Regions from separate parts of the Homo sapiens genome. Here region 2 is linked to region 1. The links are contacts of gene promoters, found by promoter capture Hi-C in human tissues and cell types (Jung and others, 2019). All regions are on one chromosome and are shown on one strand. Each heading gives the region's core, a stretch centred on a gene start or on the middle of the fragment in contact. The rest is flanking DNA. Distances are from core to core; before and after follow the strand shown.

Region 1 (2,758 bases), core at 119-2,618:
GCCTTTCCACGCTCAACTCTGCTCAGCTTGGTCCTCCTGGGGGCACGCCTAGGTCAGCCCTCAAATTCCACTGAAGCTCTGCTCCCCTCTTCCTGTCCTCCTCCCAGGCCAGCCCGCACCGCAGGCCCCGCCGTGCCCAGGTGGCCCTTCTTTACATCCCGTGGGGCCCAGCACAGGGACCAGGCATACCTGCTCCCGTCCCCAGTGACCAGGCCGCAGGTGGGCAGCACAGGAGAGCACGACCCGGCAGGGCACCCCCAGCCCTCCTGCTGACTCGACAAGGCCAGGAAGTGCCCGTCGTCCTGGTTCTGCCTCGGCCCTGCGTGACACCCACGCCACTGCACCCAGGCCTCTCCTACCCCTCCACGGGCCACTTAGCTGCAACCAGGAGGCCGTGGGCCAACGCGTTTTAAAAGCTGGCTCCCTAAAGCCAATCCGCACAGTCCCGAACTGCTCTCTGGGGCTTCTCCTCGTCAGAGCAAACACCTGCAGGGATGCCGCTCTGCTAGAGGGTGCAGAGCAGCCCCTGCCCCACCCTCTTCCCTTCGGCCACCTCCTGGCGTGGTCAGGCCGAGGGGAATCCACCCTCGTGGGCACCGTGACCTCACTCGGCGTCTTCTTCCTGACTTCCCCACGCACAGGGGCCCAGGAGGTGAGCGCGCGAGCGTCTCGAGCTCCACGGCCGCTTCTGCGTTCCAGCGGGGCAAGGTCCCGGCTCGCGTGACTGCTCCGGGACTCCTCGGGGCTCTGCGACATTTCCTCGCCTCCGGGAGCCGCACCGCCCGCCCGCCCCCGCGGCAGTTGGCCCGGTCGGCGGGAAGGGGCGAGGACGAGCGGCTGCGCCATAGCTGGTGCACAGGGCTCCCTCCTACCCGCGTACCCCGACGCCGGACCCGTCCCACCCGCAGGGGCCCGCAGAGCGCTCAGCCCTCCGCTTCCGCCCCCGCAAGCCAAGCAGAGCGGGAGGCTCATCCCGCGCCTGCCTCCAGGGCGCCCGCGCCAGGCTCTGCCCGCAGCTCCCGAGCCTCCCTCGGGGAACTGAGGCTCGTCTCGGGCAGCCCCGCCAAGGTCACGGGCTCGGGTTACGTAAGCCCGGGCTGCGGGCGGATGCGTACCTGCAGCGGGAACGTGGCCGCCCGGTTGCCCACGTAGCCGCGGATGACGTGGCTCTGTATGGAGAGCACCCGGCACTCCTCCTCCATGCCGGGCCTGGCCGCGGCGGCGCGGGGCCGAGGCGGGGGCACGGTCTCCGCCGCTCGCTCGGGCTCCGGCTCGGCTCGGGCTCGGGCTCCGGCCCCGGCTCCCCTCGGCTGCGACTCTGGCTCTGGCGCGCGGCGGACCCGATCAGCGCAGACGCCTCCTTCTGACCTCAGCGGGCGGCTCCGAACCCGCGAGTTCCGCGCGGCGCCGGGGGCTGGCCGGGGGCGGACCGGGGCGGGGACAGCCACGCAGGCCCCGCCCCCGGGCTGGGAGGAAGCGAAACCGGACCCTGGCCGCGCGGCCGCGCCAGGTGGCCCCCGCCACTCTGCCGCCCGAAACGCTGGGTTTGCACTTTCATTCCGCCTGGAGAGGGCTCTGCAGCGCCGTTCATTCGTTCGTTCATTCATTCATTCAACCATTGTGCTCCGCCTCAGCCCTGCGCCCCGCGCCCCGCGCCCCGCGCCCCGCCGCACGCAGGGGAGACTCGGGGGCCCGGGCTCCACGCCCCTGACCTCCGGGCGCGACACTCTCGCAACGCGGATGGCCACGAGAGTGCGCGCGGGCGTGGGAATAGTGCGGAGGCGCGAAAGTGACCCCGGACCCCGGATACCCAAGGGAACCGCGCTCTCAACTGCCTGCAGGGCCCGGAGCCCGCATCCGATCCGCGTCCCTTCCCAGGGGCCGCGCGGGAGCTGACAGACACGGGGCCGGGGGGACCCAGTCAACTCCGCACCGGCCTGGGGCGGCGGGCTTCTCTGGGGGCGCCCCAGACCCTTGCGGACCCTGAGTGCCCACTCTGGTGGCGCGGCCTGCAGAGGCCCCCAGCCGATGGCCACATGCCCGGCCGTCCATCCACAGGTGCCTGGGTCTGGGCCGCGTGTCCGATCCCACCCCAACCAGGTCTTCCTGTGGAGGGCCTGCCTTCGAGGACGAACCTGACCCCCTGGGGGACCCCACAGCCTTCACTTCCCACCCCTACGCTCTCCACAGCTGACGCACTCCCTGCGGCTTCCCTGCACCACCCCGGGGAACGGAGGCCTTTGGGTTCCAGACTTGCAGACATGGTGATTTGGGGCCCTGGGGTCAGTATCACCAGACTAAAGTCTTGGTGACCTAACACAGCGCACCTAGGGCTCTGTAGCTTGGTGAGACCCAATGCCCGACCAGGCGGGTGCTGAGGACTGAGGGAGGAAGACATTACTTAGAGATCTAGGCTTTTAAAAGAAAGTACTTCATAATTAGTCATAATTGTCCATTAATAATAGCTAACATTGGCCGGGCGCGGTGGCTCACGCCTATAATCCCAGCACTTTGGGAGGCTGAGTTGAGCGGATCAAGAGGTCAGGAGTTCAAGACCAGTCTGGCCAACATAATGAAACCCCATCTCTACTAAAAATACAAAAATTTAGCTGGGTGTGGTGGTGTGCACCTGTAATCCCAGCTACTTGGGAGGCTGAGGCAGGAGAATTGCATGAACCCAGGAGGTGGAGGTTGCAGTGAGCCAAGATCGCGCCATTGCCCTCCAGCCCGGGTGACAGTGAGAGACTCTGTCTCAAAA
Region 2 (2,716 bases), core at 29-2,528, 220 kb before region 1:
CCTGGACCCGTGGTGCCATCAATGCAGAATCGCTCCTATTACAGGCCTAGCACCCACCGTGACGCTCAACGTCTCTGTCCCCACAAAAAAACCAAGCCGCCTCTGTGGCCCTCCAGGTCAAACAGGATCAACAGGGACCTCACAAGCCCACAGGTTCCGGAAGCTCCCAGGTCGTACTGCAAGTGCCACTAAATGGCACCTGTGGGTACGCTGCCACGGCGCAGGCCACCACTTGAGGCCTCGAATTCCACAGCTAACTTACTGAAGACCTGAGGGCAAAGGAGAAATGCACATCCTTGGAAACGCTGTGGGTGAGGAGGTGGCACAGCCAGTCCCCTGCCACCTGGTCAGCAGGCTGAAGCTGAGAGGCTTGGCATAAGCCAATTACGAGCAGCTGCTCAGGCGCAATGCGGCACTCTTCCCAGACAGAGGCGCTCTTTTCCCAACACCTAATAGGTCTTTCATCATTTTGAGCATTTGTGAAACTGCATAGCTCAGCCACGAATCCCAGGAAATGATTTGATACCCTTTCTCCGCCCAGGCGCCAGGAACGGTCCGTGGAAGCTGCCAGAGTCGCCCGCTCGCTGGGGCCAGCCTGCCCTGTATACATGGCCCCCGTCACACTCGCGGTAGCCCCAGGTTGAGGATGAGTGAGCGGTTGCTCCTGGGGTTTTGGAACCCTCACCAATGACCGACCCCCTTGCTCAAACTCTCAGAGGCCCCAAATCCCAAGCTAATTTGTCTCCTAAATTCCACACTTAGGTTCTGTTTGTTTTTTAGAGATGGGGTCTCGCTCTGTTGCCCAGGCTGGAGTGCAGTGGCGTAATCACAGCTCACTGTGGCCTTGACCTCCTGAGCTCAAGGGATCCTCCTGCCTCAGCCTTAGGATTCTGTCTTTTGGCTCTGGGTAAACCTCTTTGTAAATAGTATTGATCGTTTTTACATAAACTGAGTCATGGGGAAGACTGGGCATCCTCCTGCCTGTGTCACCTGCAGTGACCCTCCCCGCTGTTAGCAATGGAAGTGCATTAATCGGATCTATAGAAGAGAAAGCTTCCAGATCAGAGAGAAGCAGCTCCTGGCCAAGTGTGCACCAAGAAAAACAAACACAGTCTAGCGTGGAACCTCCAGGGGAGCTGTGGTCTCTTCCTAGGAAATCACCTCGTTCTCCGGCTCTAGAAAATAAAGTTGGCACCCAGACTTGGGGTTTTTGGGTCCCCCCAGCTGCCCCCTGCACCACCTGGTACCATCATCACACACCCCATGGACAGAGGCTGGCACGCATCTTGTGCCCTTTGACCCTCTGCAGAAACAGCAGGCGGCATCAGTGTCCCGTTTTACCAACGAGCACTGGAGGCCTGGAGCACAAACACCCCATCTAATCCCAGCCCGGAGACACAGCGGGGTTGGGACCGAGTCTCTGAAATCCTAGGCCAGCGTGATCTGTGACACCTGCTGATTCTCGGCTTCTGCAGTAAGAGCCGGCACGGACTCTGGTCAAGGGCAGCTGGGAAATCGCCTGCGATCACCATAAACCAGCCCATCAGGCAATGGGTGTGACAGAGCAGCGCCACTTTGATGGTAACTACGCATTTTCTGCTCAGGGTGCAGATCACCATGTAAATCAGCCATCCTACAGCACCTGCCTTGGGGGGCAGTGGGAGTCTGTGCCCATACATCAGGCACTTGTCCGTCCCAGGACATGCCAGGCATCTACAAACACCGCCCAGATGGTATGAAACCGCTCAGCTCCTTCAGGAATGTTCTGAACAAAAACCCCTTTGCAGAAGGATGGGAGAGCTGCCCAAGGACCCCAGGAGGGATCAGAATGAGTTCCTGCCATCCCCTGCTTCCCTACCTCCCAGGAGTTCCCCTGCAAAGGGCTAGGCAGGGTTTGTTGACATGCAGAGAACGGTCCAGGGCTGGAAGAGGAGGGGAGCACACAGTAAAGGCCCCCAGGACTGCCCAGGCCCCCGGGCCCCGGCCTCACTCACCAGTAGAAGTAATAGGCCAAAGCCACCGCCAGCAGGGCCACACAGATCCCTGAGAAGAGGCAGGCCGGGTAGCTGCTCAGCATCTTCAGCCCTCGGTCCTGTGCTGCCTGAAGCCGGCGAGAAGGACCTGCGGGGAGCAGGTGTCAGCCTGGCCAAAGGGTGAGGAGCCGAGCTCAAGCGGAGGGATTAGGACCTGGCCTGAGCTGCCCAGGCTTGGCAGGGGCCGTTGCCACCCAGAGCATCTGCTCAGCAGGAAGTGGGTGCTGGGCACCCCCAGGGTGCCACCTGCGTGGCCAGCACTGTCCTTCTAGTCACAGAGACCAACTCAAGGGACCCCAGGAGCGCGCTGAAGCAGGACATACACACAGGTTCGTCCTCCTGCGCACAGCTGCGGGCTCTGCCGTCGGGGCACCGGCTAATCCAATAAGCAGCTTTTGGCCAGGAGCTGCTCACTGTAAACAGGCAGAGTCACAGGGCCAGCCAGGATGCAGGTCAACGAGCCCCACCCCAGCACAGACCCCTAGGACCAGGGACCTAAGAGTGCCCACATCTTCCTCCTCACAGCACCAGTGTGTCAAGGGGCCAGGTTGTGGGTGAGTTGGTGAGGTCTACCCTGTGCTCAGCCGTGGGCTAGCAAGATCCCTGAAAGGCCTCCAAGTGATAGGCAAACGTCCTGCATGTGGGGCATGGCTGTGGGCTCAACAGAGAACAGCCACCCAGCC

The links. Contacts are between HindIII fragments. The study calls those that stand out against the background at their distance.
Region 2: a fragment that was not itself captured here is called in contact with the fragment with the promoter of PDXK in region 1 in 1 of the 25 tissues and cell types used here (lymphoblastoid cells).

The regions. Positions count from the first base shown.
Region 1 is chr21:43,717,739-43,720,496 of GRCh38, reverse strand. It overlaps PDXK (pyridoxal kinase), which reads right to left and starts at 1,368. Exons shown (of 11, transcript NM_003681.5): 1 at 1,116-1,368. The coding sequence starts at 1,202. It overlaps LOC124905032 (a long non-coding RNA gene), which reads left to right and starts at 1,949. Exons shown (of 2, transcript XR_007067896.1): 1 at 1,949-2,282. RefSeq lists silencers at 380-569, 727-1,036, 1,077-1,866 and enhancers at 1-675, 2,017-2,066. The HindIII fragment of the contact is 22,908 bases long and covers 1-2,758 here.
Region 2 is chr21:43,939,610-43,942,325 of GRCh38, reverse strand. All of the region lies in intron 2 of AGPAT3 (1-acylglycerol-3-phosphate O-acyltransferase 3), which reads right to left. Among named protein-coding and RNA genes, the nearest start is that of TRAPPC10, 71 kb to the left of the region's middle. RefSeq lists a silencer at 1,393-1,564 and an enhancer at 2,104-2,716. The HindIII fragment of the contact is 3,906 bases long and covers 1-2,716 here.